Linked DNA regions of Homo sapiens: regions 1 and 2 are each linked to region 3. The links are contacts of gene promoters, found by promoter capture Hi-C in human tissues and cell types (Jung and others, 2019). All regions are on one chromosome and are shown on one strand. Each heading gives the region's core, a stretch centred on a gene start or on the middle of the fragment in contact. The rest is flanking DNA. Distances are from core to core; before and after follow the strand shown.

Region 1 (4,126 bases), core at 1,601-4,100, 180 kb after region 3:
TTAGAATGCAGTTACATGTTCATAGCTCAATATAACCTCAGACTCCTGGGCTTAAGTGGATCCTCCCACCTCAGCCTTCTAAGAAGCTAGGACTACAGGTGAACGCCAGCATGCCTAAGTCATTTTTACAATTTTTTGTAGAGATGGGGTCTCACCAAGTTGTCCAGGCTGGTCTCGAACTCCTGGCCTCAAGTGAACCTCCCACCTCAGCCTCCCAAAGCACTGGGATGACAGGCTTGAGCCACCATGCTTGGCTGTTAATAAGTGTCGAAGTAGCCAAAAGAGCTTAGGCCCCAGCATCTTAGTTCCTGTATGGCAAAGGGGCAGCCTGCAGGTCACTCCTCAGTCCAGAAGTCGCTGGTTGAGTCGCCTGCCTTTAGAACTGAAACAAAGAGTAAGTGTACATCCTGTTCCTGGATCTGTCATCCCTAGAATTCCAAAACAAAGGAACTTACTGCCTTGAGACATGTTTTAGGCAGGATAAACCAGACTAGCCTCTTGTTTTTTGTTTTTTGTTTTTTCCTTTTTAAATCAGCTTTCATTAAGCTGTTGATTACTTATCCTTTCAGAAAAAAAATGATACTTTGGAAAAATGCAAGTCAGTGCCATTTGATGCTGGGTGTAGCATAGTGCTTATCAGTGATGTCAGAGTTGCCTTTGGCTCAACAGGAAGCTTGCTTTTGCAGTGATGGGCTCCCAGCTGGAGGCTCGCTCAAGGTTCTGCTCTCACCGTTGCATCCTCTACATCTCATTCCCAGGCTGTCGATTATGTGAGGACAGTACATGAGTGTATGCTTTATAGAGCAGATCCTGAGATAGGCTTACTAGATACACCTTATTGGATCACCAAGATCTTGTGTAGAAGGGGCCTTTACCATCTTCTTCCAACACAGCATCCCAGATCAGCCTCAGTTGAATCAGTGTGTGCCTTTTCCATTTTGCTTCTCTTGGTTTTTCAGGTCTTTGAGATTTGAGTTGTTGTTTACTGAAATCCGGAACCATGTTGTCTTTGTTATGTATTCATCCATATTTAGTTTTTATCATGCTTGACATGTTAGCAGGACATAGTTTTCTTTATACCAGAGCAGTGCCACTCAGCCACAAGCAGATGAGGGATTTCAGATTTCAAAAAGGGAAAAAAAACCAAACAGCTGTGAAGATGTGATTCTTCAGCAGTGGGGAAACTAGTTTTTCCTTTTCTTTGTTCATTTGTCTGCATTTGTTACATGATGTGATTCATCACCCATTCCCCCATTCTTTCAGCAGATACTCAGTAGGTACCTACTTCATTTTATGCTCTGGTACACACATTTAAATCTCCTTGGGTTTAGGGGATTTTGAAATGCCGGACTGCAAAAGATTTTTCTATATGCAACAAATTTGATGATCAGTTGGGCCGGGCACGGTGGCTCACGCCTGTAATCCCAGCACTTTGGGAGGCCGAGGTGGGTGGATCACCTGAGGTCAGGAATTCGAGACCAGCCTGACCAACATGGTGAAACCCTGTCTCTACTGAAAATAGAAAAATTAGCCGGGCGTCGGGGCAGGCGCCTGTAATCCCAGCTACTCGGGAGGCTGAGGCAGGAGAATCGCTTGAACCCAGGAGGCGGAGGTTGCAGTGAGCTGAGATTGTGACATTGCACTCCAGCCTGGGCAACAGAGCAAGACCCCGTCTCAAAAAAAAAAAAAAGTGATGATCAGTCGTCAAAGCTTTAATGGTTAGTCAGCATTCAGCATTTTAGGGTAATTCTTAATGATCAGAGTCAATTACAGTCACATTTGTGGGATAAACTTGACCATGACAATGGCTAGCCAGTTCTACCATTCAAAAAGTATTTGTAGAGTTTCCAATAATATAATTCATTTAGAATGAATTGAATCAATATATGTGAACCAAAATTCATATTGAAATTGCACTTAAGCAGTAATGGCTGAACTGAATTAATACAGCTGGAATTTAACTAATAGAGGTCTCGAAAATCTATTTTTTCTTATAGACCAATCTATTCTGACCCTTGCTATTCTGCAGTTGTTTCTGTGAGGATGTTGTGAAGGAGCAGGCTTTGTTAGCATTTTTACCAAGTATTTAAACCAGAAGATGCTTGCTTTTCATAGCTACAAGCACAGCATAAGAGGGTAGGAGGGGGGAGAACACAGGTTTTGAGCATCATCATTTGTTGGAAAACGCAATGGGCCAAATATAGAAAGTTCTCCGGCTTTACTAGCCAAGATCAGGGTTGGCCTCTGCTTCTTCTTATGCCGCTCAAGGCTGTTTTAGGGAACCATGCTGCATCTTCTGTGGTATGCCTTGGCAAACTGTCATTCCCTGCAGTTCCAAAAGAACAGTCATATTAGTGTTTCTGAACGCCACATAAGACATGTGGAGACCCTGGCAAACTCTAGCGAGAGAGAAGCCAGCCGTGGCAGAGAAAACTATTCTCTGTTGGATGCCTGTTCTCTGTGTTGAAATGATCAGCTTTGTTCCTCTCTGCGACTTGTATGAATTGGGATAAATAAATGTCCTTTTTATAATTTTTGTGAAGCTAAGAAGTTATCTTAAGATGGTATGCTTTGGAGTGAAGCTAGGTGAAGGTGAATGTTGATTTTTTTTTGGCAGCTGAAGAAACCTCTTGAAACCCAAAGCTTTACAATCATCTCTATTTCAGGGGAATTTGAGGGTGTATCCCAGGGGCCCACCACTCAGTGACAGGTGCAGTATACCAGGGATGCAGAGGTGATTAAGATACAATGCCTGCCTTCCTGGGTACCTCAAAAACAAAAAATGAGGGCTATAGCACCATGCTTAGCTGACTGTAATGAAGCGTAGCAGGTATGGTGGTAAATGTGTGTGGGAATACACATTTGGTTTTTTGAGAAGGACTGGATGTTTCAGCTGGGCCTTGAAAGATTATTTGGGCCGGGCACAGTGGCTCACATCTGTAATCCCAACACTGAGAGGCTGAGGAGGGAAGATCACTTGTGCCCAGCGCTTTGAGACCAATCCCTGAGTCACATAGACCCCATCTCTAAAAAAAATTTTTTTAATTAGCTGGGCATGCATCTGTAGTCTCTGCTTGAGAGGCTGAGGTGGGAGGATCACTTGAGCTTGGGAGTTCGAGGCTGCAGTGAGCCATGGTTGTGCCACTGCATTCCAACCTGGGCAACAGAACAAGACCCTGTCTAAAAAAAAAAAAAGAAAAGGAAGATTATTTGATTTCAGTAGGTAGCAAAAGGAGGAGGGAAGGACATTTTAGGTGGAAAGAACCACACATGCAGGCATATAGAGTGTGAACAAGAAAAGCTGTGGTGGGTGATGAAGTGGAGATGACTATTAAGTTCTTTACCCATCAGTCTTATGAGCCTGCATATTATCCTTCAGACATTCGGAGCCTTCCAGGGATGTTGAGCAAGGGAATGAGACGATGAGATTTTGTTTTGGGAAACTAACTGGTGGCAGTTAGGATGATGGGTTGAAGGGAGGGGTGAGACTGCAGGTGGGAAAACAAAACAGATGTAGGATCAGATGTAGGATCCCAAGATCTCGCTGCCATTTGCAAGCCAAGGTGACAAGAGTAGCAGTGTTGATAATAGAGCATGTGGCATGTGCCGACTCCTTGCTGAGCACCTACGTAGGTGTCCTCCTGGTTCGTGTTCACAACTCAATGGGTAGGTACTATCATTATCCCCCTTTTACAGACAAGGAAAGATTTGGAGTGAGGTCACATAGCTAGAAGTAGTGCTGATCAAATTCACACACAGGCAGTTCAATTCCAGATTCCACCCTTGTAACCCTTAGGCTGTATTGAAAGGCAGTGGGTAGATGGTAGTGCCTTTTGACCAAGTTTGGGAAGATAATTGGCTTAGTTTTGAGCACCTTTTTTTTTTCTTTTTTTTAAGAGATTGGATCTTACTCTGTTGCACAGGCTGGAGTATATGTTGTGATGATGGCTCACTGTAATTTATCCTTCAGACATTCGGAGCCTTCCAGGGATGTTGAGCAAGGGAATGAGACGATGAGATTTTGTTTTGGGAACTCCTGGGCTCAATTGATCCTCCCACCTCAGCCTCCCTAGTAGCTAGGACTACAGGAGTGCACCACCATGCCCGGCTAACTTTTTGCTTTTTA
Region 2 (4,442 bases), core at 1,510-4,009, 220 kb after region 3:
AAAAACAAAACAAAACAAACCCCCAGAAATTTATTCCTCACAATTCTGAAGGCTACAATTCTGAGATCAAGGTGTTGGCAGGTCTGGTCCCCCAGCCCTGAGTCCTCTCTCCTTGGTTTGTAATTAACCTTCTTCTCCCTGTGCCTTCCTCTGGTCTTTCCTCTGTGTGGCGCATCTCTAGTGTCTCTTCTTATGAGGACACCAGTCATTGGATGAGGGCCCCATCCAAGGGCCTCAGTTTAAGATGATCACCTCTTTAAAGACCTTATCTCCATCCACAGTTACATTCTGAGGTTCTGAGACTGTAACCAGTACAGTTCAGCATATGAATGGGGGTGAGGGGGCACACAATTCAGCTTATAACAGTTATTTTTTCACTCTCTTTTTGTTCTTTTTATGTTTAATTTTTTTTTTTTTTTTTTTTTAGAGACAGGGTCTTGCTCTGTCACCCAGGCGGGAGTACAGTAGCACCATCATAGCTCACTGCAGCCTTGAACTCCTAGGCAAAAGCAATCCTCTTAAATAGCTAGGACTACAATCATGAACCACTACGTCTGCCTAATTTTAAAAGAATTTGTAGAGACAGAGTTTCACTATGTTGCCCTGGCTGGTCTTGAGCTCCTGGCCTCAAGTAATCCTCCTATCTCCACCTCCCAAAATGCTGGGATTATAGGTGTGAGCCACCAGGCCCAGCCATAACTTTTCACTTTCTTGATGATACCCCTGAAAGCACAAAAGTTTTTAATTTATCTATTTTTTTTTCTTTTGTTGCTTGTGCTAATATCTAAGCAACTACTGTTTAATCCAAAGTCATGAAGATTTAGGCTTATGTTTTCTTCAGAGAGTTTTATAGTTTTAGCTCTTACATTTAGATCTATATGTTGCATATAGTATGAAGCAGGGATCCAAATTCATTCTTTTGCATGTGGATATCCAGTTGTCCCAGCACCATTTTTTGAAAACACTATTCTTTCCCCATTAAATTGTCTTGGCACTCTTGTTGAAAATCAATTGGCAGTAAGTGTAAGGGCTTCTGTCTGGACTCTCAGTTTTATTCCATTGGTCTGTATGCCCATCCTTATACCCGTACCACCCTGCCTTGATGACTGAAGTTTCCTAGTAAGTTTTGAAATCAGGACTTGTGAGTCCCCCAACTTATTCTGAATTTACTTTAACTTTTGATACCGAACACAGTGTGAGAGGTGAATGAACAGCATGACATTGGAGTTGGGAGCCCCCTCCCTCCAAAGGCCTTATTTTAGGAACACAGGCCCCAAGTGCCACACAAGCCTTGGAGAGATGGGTTCCCATCCTCTCAGCCCATGGCTCTTCATTATCAATCAATGGAAACATTCTTCGGAGAACAATGATTCCCTTGGGTTATTTTAAACATGGCTTTAAGTCTTCCCCACATGCTCTACTGTCTAATTGCTTTTCCTGAAACAGTGTCATTCACAACTGGATTATTAATGAACTGAGAGGGAGCCAGGGAGCCAATGAAGGGGGCTTACAGAGTTCCTGGAGAGGGCCTGGGGGCCTGGAACAAGTTCAACCCACAGATTTTCTCTCCCCCAAGAAAGGTGACTGAGCAAACAGAAAATCACTAAACTCAGGTGATGCTGGTGGCCTCAAAAGAATATTGCCAGTGAAAAAAAAAGGATTCGGGCGAGTTCCTCAAACATGACAGCTGAGAATCAAATTAACTGGGTACCATCCCCAAACTCCCCAAACTTAAACTCTGAATTTCCCCAGCTGGCTGGCCCTGGGGTGCCTAGGGCTCTCATCTGTAGGCCGGGAAAGCTCAGGAAACAAGGCCTTTGTGGAGAAGAGAAACCTATTGTTCTAAGGCCAGGGTTCAGCAAATGTGGATTCCAGAGAATGTTTGGGGAGGTTTTCTCTGCTTTGTTTATGAACTTTCTTTTCTCTTCCTGGGGTGGTGATGGTGGGGGGTGACTCTCAGCAACTTAAATAGTTAAACCCATTGTGTTGTAAAGAAAGGCTGGTGCACAGAGTGCAGAGGCCTTCAGCCCCAGAAAGAGGCTTGAATGAGGTGACAGAAGCCACCGGGTATGTTTTGCTTTTTATTTTTAGCGTTAAATCTCAGGGAAGCAGCCCCTATCTTCATCCTGCACATCTCAAAGGGCGTCAGACGTCAGCAGAGGTACGACCACTTCCTTCCTCCAGCGCTTCACCTCCCTTCTTTCCAGAAAGAGGAAATGATGCGAGTCCACACCGCAGGCCACAGCCCCCATGTCTCGGCCCCAGCAGCTGGGGGACCTGGCCCCACAGATCTGTCCCCAGCGCAAGGCCAGGGCCGGCCCCTGGACCTCCTGGGAAGCCTTCAGACTCAGGCCGCGCAGGCCTTCAAGCTAGGAACCCTGAGTTCCTGGCCCTGGCATTCATTCTGTGTGACCTTGAGCAGGTTACCACTCCTCTCTGGGCTTCAGGATTCCCGTCTGTCAAATGGGAGCAGGGATACCGTCCTTGGCTTCCCTCTTTCCATGGTCGGGGTGGGGGTTAGGAAAACTATTTTGGAGGAGGGGGCAGCGTTAGGAAAACTATTCCGAAGCCTGGCCACGTCCCAACCGGTTTCAACTTCCTGCAGCTCAGAAGAGGGGTCCCCACCCGAGAGCGCCGGGACCCTGTCCCGCGCTGCCTCCCAAGCCGGATGGGGTTGAGCGCGCCCACCCCAGTCCCAGGAGCTCAGGCCCCGCCTTGGGGGAGGAGCCGAGAGGCGGCGCGGAGGCTCGCGGCCGAGCAGAGCCAGCTCTGTCGCCGCTGGAGCAGCTGCGGCTCGGGGACCCACAGACACAGCCGGGGTCGGGAGCCGCCCGGGGCAGGGCTCGGGAGAGCGGGTGAGTTCCCCGGCGGCGCCACCACCCTCCTTGCGCTCTGCGGCTTCGCAGGGCGGGGGATGAGGATGGGGCGGGGAGGTGGTCCCAGCCTGCTATCACCTAGCTGGGGGCCGGGGCGCTTTGGCCAAGGGACGATAGCTTGAGATAAATGGGAGTGTGGGGACTCTGGAAAGACGGGTACCGAGAGCGCTAGGTCCGGGAGTCGGGCTGGAATGGGGGCGTTCTCCCCGGCCTCGCAATTCCTTGACGAGGCCAGGGGAGGGGGCGCATTGGCAGGTTGTTGGCTGCGGCCGTCGTAGACCGATCTTGGGGCGGGGAGGTGGGGTCCTCGGTCTGTTCTGGACTCATGGGGCCGCCGTCTGCCGGGGGTGCAATGCCGGGCGGCGGGAGCCACAGCGGACACCAAACAACCCCCCCCCGCGCACTCTCCCGGCCGGGCATGGTGGTGCCGCCCCCTCGCGTGGCGGGGCTTGGTCCTGGCGGGCAGCGGCAGGGCGCAGAGAGCGCTCCTGCCCGGGCGGGAAAGATCCCCAAGGCAGGCGCCTCCACCTGCAGACCCGCCCCGCCTCAGGATCCGGCTGACAGCACCAGCCAGCCCGGGGAGACCCCGCGAGTGGTAGTTCCCCGGGAGGGGCGCGCCCGGCCTCTCCCAGGGCCCCGTGCGCCGGCGGCTGGGTCCCCCGCGCCAGGAGCGCTCCCCTCTGGGCGACTCCGGCTCATCGATTCCGGCCCAGAGGAGCGCCCCCGGGCGCCGAGGATGGGCGGAGACGTGCAGCCGCCCCTGAGAGGTCGCCCAGAGGGGTCTCCCCAAGGTCACCCGGAGTGCCCAGGCTGAGCTGCCCAGACCGCCCCGGGTGGAGAGCCGGGAGGCAGGCGCTCGCTGCCCTCCTCCTTCCCCCATGTAGACTCCCTTCCTCCGCTCCCCCACCCCGGCCCGGCCTCCAGCTTCACTGGAGATGCTGATGATGCAGCTCCCAGCCCTTGGAGGATAATTGAGCCTGGGAGAGCTTTGAATCTGGCCCTCCTGAGACCCCAGGGCTGCGCCGCTGCCGCGCGCCAGGCCTGGGTCCCGGTGCTCCCGGGCACCTCAGGAGCGGAGGGAGAGGGATGTGGCTTCATCAGCGCTTCTAGGAACCGAAAACCGAGCTGCCTGCGCGCCCATGTGATTGCATTTCACATAAAGGGCCCCTGTTTTCACTGTCAGAAGAGCCCCCCAGCTCTCCGCGGCTCTGGACACCAGGTGCCGCCTCTGAATCACCCTCTGTGGAGGACCCGGGGCCCGGAGGTACAGGCGCCCTTTCCCGCAGGGCTCTCCCTGGAAAGGGCCTGCCGATGGCGGCCTCAGTCCGCAGGGGTACTTCCCTGTGTACCCTGCCATTTCCTGCGGCTGGTGAAGCACCGGAGAAAAACCGTCCATCTAGGAGGCCTCCTCCAAGGCTGGTAATAAAGCTTCTTAGCCCAGCCAGCGACTAGCTGTCTACTCGTGGGCAAGGTACTTGGCTTCTGGAGTCTCAACTGCCTCTAAGATACGGGGCTAACAGCCGCCAGGCTGTGGGGAGATGAGGGAGAGGCTGGGTGCAGCAGAGC
Region 3 (4,043 bases), core at 1,172-3,671:
CCGATCCTTTGTCCAGAAGAAGCCCATGGAATATTGAATGTAATACATTTAGTCAATTAAATTTTAAGGAGATTCTTATCTAATAACTTTGTGTGTGCTTTTGGATACAGGCTGAGGCTTTACTCCTACACTGGTGCTGTTAATTTTACCCTTTCAGGGGATGTCTGCTCGGCTTTGGCTGCCCTTTATAATTTAGATCTGTAGTTTAAATGAACATTAAATGAGTATTTCATGAAATACTCAAAGTTTGATTAATTTTAAGAAAAGTATTTGGCCTTCTCTGCTGGAAGGAGCTTGTATAATTAAAACACTGCCAATAGAGGCTCACCTTTCAGGGGCTGCGAATTGCTGAGGAGATAGATGCTTATGTTACGGGAGCAAGAAAGTGCCAGCTGTGCCCTCTGCTTGCAGAAAATTTGAGCCCTAGTAGGACTAGACAGTCAGGAAAGGGGGGAGGTGCAGAGATCATCCCCTGCCGCCCACTGCCCCCTTTGTGAAGGGCATCTTGGAGCCAGATGAGTGCCTTCAGGCCTGGATCACACATAGTGGAGTGAATGGACCACTTGAAACAATCATGAGAACCATTGTGGCCATGCCTCTGCCAAGAGCTGCTGACGTGTGCCCTCTGAACTGTGCCTGGGAGCTGCCTACCTTGCACTGTGTGTTCTGCCTGCTCTGCCCACGCACAACAGGACCTCCAGCTGGGCCTAGTGGCCAGAGACGCTGACTGCACAGTAGCCCTGTTTTGGTGTCTGGAAAGGTTTTGTAGCCAGAAAAAAAATGTGTGCTCAAGCCTTTCCCAGCTATGCTGCTCAGCTCTCTCTCTGACCGCAGCCCCTTCAGGACCCAGTTCCAGGGAATCACCCCCAACCCAGACCACCTGCTCCTCCTTCTCTTGGCCTCTGGGCCCTGCATCAGGAGCACCCTGCCAGAGCACTGCTCCTCTTGGACACTCATTCTAGTCCATTTTCCCAGACTTCCTCTTGTAGGAATTCTGGCCTTCCCACAGCTGGGCTAGGACTCTTGAAACCATGCCCCAGCTCTCCCAGCCCCTCCCATGCTCTTATTTTTTCCTGTTGCTGGCCCCATGCGCCCTTCTCCTTGAATCGGTGTCTTTTCCTATAAGGGGGTTTTCTACTCCATGTTTTTCCCTAAGTTTACCACCCCCTTCCTGCAGCTGCTCCCCCGCCTGGACCTGGTTTGCCTTTTCAACAGGTGCTTTTAAGTCATGAGATGCTGTAGTCTCAAAATCAAGCCTGCATCAGAATCATTCTAGTTGCTTATCAGTGTGTTGAATCCCAAGCCACACCCCCACCCCCAAGAGGTCTGAGGAGACGAAGGTGAGCCTGGGAATTGGCATGTTTAATAAATACACTCCAGCACCCACCCACCTGCTGGCAGTCACAGGCAGGTGGTCCAAGGGTCCTCTTGGAGAATACCATGCAGCAGCCACTCCAGTGGGAAGCCCGAAGCCTCCTTTCTGCCATGGTCTGGCACATGGAGGTTTACTGAATACTTGATGAGTGAACGGATGACAGATAGGAGAAGATGAGGATGACATGTGGAAGTGTTCTGGCCACTCAGGAGATAAAGGAACAAGATTCAAGTCGTTAGAAGCCCCTCACTGAAAACCCTAATAAGGAGAGGCACAAGCTTTCAGATTAAGTAATAATCATTTATAGTCATTTAATCTAGTAATAATTAGAATAATCTACTATGTGTTAGATTTTAAAAGTTTTCAGTGGCAGCCCAGTGACCAATCCAGCCTGGCAGACGTTTTGTTTAGCCAACAGTGCTTTGACAAGGTCTGATCCGACATTTTAAACTTGGGAGATTTCACAGAAATCCAGACTTTTTGCCTGTCTTGGGAAAGTTAGGAGTCCTGCAATAATGGACCTGCATTTCACTTGTAGCAGTTATTGGTTGGAGCTGCCATCACTGCATGCTTAGGATGCAGTAAGCTGCATCCAGTTTGCCGCAGTCCCCAGCACCCCCACCAAGTGTGGACGTGGGCACCCACAGCTGGTATTACAGGACCTGGGGACCCAGCTGGCTCCTGGAGGGGGTCTGTGACTTCAGATATATGAACACCGATCCTGGGGGTAATTTTTGTCCCATCTATTTTTCTAACTTAACAGAATTATCTCCATCTTACAAGAAAAAGGGTCAGAGGGGTGTCATGAACCCAATAGCTACTGGACTGAGATTCAAGCCCAGGCCTGCCTGGAAACCTGGGCTTTTTAATTCTCAGCCAGACTGTCTGTCTCACTGCCTCACTTCCCACCCTTTCATCCAGAACAGCTCTCCCTCAAAGTGTCCCCTGCATGCTTTGCCTGAAGTACACTGTGACTTCTTTGTTATGTCACAGCTTAGTCACAGTTGGGCTGAGAGCAGAGCATGGCCCAGCCTGCCAGGTCCCATGGGGCAGCCCTGCCAGCCCAGCCCAGGCTGGCCCAGCTTAGCCACACATGCGCCATGAAGTACCCTTTGATGCCGCTGGTGAACGACCTCACATTTTCTTTCCTGGTTTTCTGGTTCTGCCTCCCTGTGGGTTTGCTGTTGTTATTGATCATCTGGCTACGCTTCTTACTTAGCCAAGGTGAGCTTCTTACCCCGTCCAGGCAGGACCCTAATCCTGGAGCTAGGCAGGGGGCCAAATAGGCCAGTGTGTCCTGAAACAACTGCAGAAGGGGCTTCCTTCAGTCATTTTAAGTGCTCGCTTAGATACAAGCAGTCAACTCTTAAGTGGAAAGGATTGGTTTGGTTGTTTAGGGTTTCTTAACCTAGAGTTCGAGAGTGAGTCCTAGAGTTTGAACCTAGAGTTCGAGAGTGAGTCCTAGAGTTTGAACCTAGAGTTTGAGAGTGAGTCCTAGAGTTTGAACCTAGAGTTCGAGAGTGATCTTTTGAACAAATCAGAGGTTATCGCTCCAGGCAGATGAACTTCCAGGTGCCCCTTTCAGCTGGGGTGCAAGGCTCTGTGAGCAGAGCGTGGGCTGGATTTCAGCCCCGCTCACCCTCTCAATTGGCTGCTTTTGTGCAGTAAACAGCTTGCACGATGGGATACAGCAGCCTTAGGCATTTTTCAGATACCTGCAGACCACTCACTGTTTCTGCCTAAGCCATGTATCAGAAAGGATCTGGCTGCTTTGGGAGACAGGCTCATGGAAGCCAGCTGACATTCACCCTGACCTCAGCATGCCACCAAGAGGAGCAAGAGGTGGGACGAAGCTGGCTGTGGAGGAAGCTGGGGGTGGCTGGATCAGGATATGGCCTGGCTGTGTGGCAGGAGTGGGACTTCTGCTCCTCTGGCATGTGTCTCCCTGAGCATCCCCTTCAGCAAGAGGTCTCTTCCTGCTGGACACAGTGGCTCACACCTGTAATCCCAGCACTTTGGGAAGCCAAGGTGGCCAGGTTGCTTGAGCCCAGGAGTTTGAGACCAGGCTGGGCAACGTCCCTACAAGGAATACAAAAATTAGCCAGGTGTGGTGGCATGCATCTGTGGTCCCAGCTACTGAGGAGGCTGAGGTGGGAGAATTGCTTGAGCCTGGGAGGTCGAGGCTGCAGTGAGCCGAGATCACACCACTGTATTCCAGCAGACAGAGTGAGACCCTGTGTCAAAAAAAGGCCTCTTCGTGGGGACCACTTGACCTCCTACCTCCTGCTGCTGAGTGCCATGACCTTTGGCAAGCTAGGCAGGGAGGGCGCAGCACATGCCGCCAGCAATGGTCAGATGTTGTTGAGGCAGGGTGAGAAGTCCCTCCCCACACCCCTGCTAGCCCCATGATCTCAAATGTAGGGGCTTATAATTATGTAATTATTGGGAGTTCCTGGCAAGAACTTGGGATGTCCTTTTGTTTCTAGAAAGTGTTTATTTAAAGTATATTCTCCTCATAGTCCTAGGGTAGACCACAGCCCTCCCTGAGGGGCACGGTTTAGGCATTGGGCCCCACAGCTGGTAGGGAGTCAGCCTTGTTTGCATACTGGCGATAAAAGTTGTCTCTCTGGAGTCTGGAAGATATGAGTTCAGATATCATCCTTTTTTT

What was found. Contacts are between HindIII fragments. The study calls those that stand out against the background at their distance.
Region 1: a fragment that was not itself captured here is called in contact with the fragment with the promoter of ADIG in region 3 in 2 of the 25 tissues and cell types used here (hippocampus and mesenchymal stem cells).
Region 2: a contact is called between the fragment with the promoter of PPP1R16B here and the fragment with the promoter of ADIG in region 3, in 1 of the 25 tissues and cell types used here (H1 embryonic stem cells).

The regions. Positions count from the first base shown.
Region 1 is chr20:38,756,971-38,761,096 of GRCh38, forward strand. All of the region lies in intron 5 of ACTR5 (actin related protein 5), which reads left to right. Among named protein-coding and RNA genes, the nearest start is that of ACTR5, 11 kb to the left of the region's middle. The HindIII fragment of the contact is 3,319 bases long and covers 1,192-4,126 here.
Region 2 is chr20:38,802,938-38,807,379 of GRCh38, forward strand. It overlaps PPP1R16B (protein phosphatase 1 regulatory subunit 16B), which reads left to right and starts at 2,760. Exons shown (of 11, transcript NM_015568.4): 1 at 2,760-2,855. RefSeq lists enhancers at 1,073-1,935, 1,936-2,797, 2,080-2,349, 3,378-4,216 and silencers at 2,610-2,989, 3,180-3,399, 3,460-3,809. The HindIII fragment of the contact is 22,338 bases long and covers 1-4,442 here.
Region 3 is chr20:38,578,776-38,582,818 of GRCh38, forward strand. ADIG (adipogenin) reads left to right here and starts at 2,422. Exons shown (of 3, transcript NM_001393816.1): 1 at 2,422-2,599. The coding sequence starts at 2,476. RALGAPB (Ral GTPase activating protein non-catalytic subunit beta) reads left to right here. Exons shown (of 30, transcript NM_020336.4): 30 at 1-83. The HindIII fragment of the contact is 13,860 bases long and covers 1-4,043 here.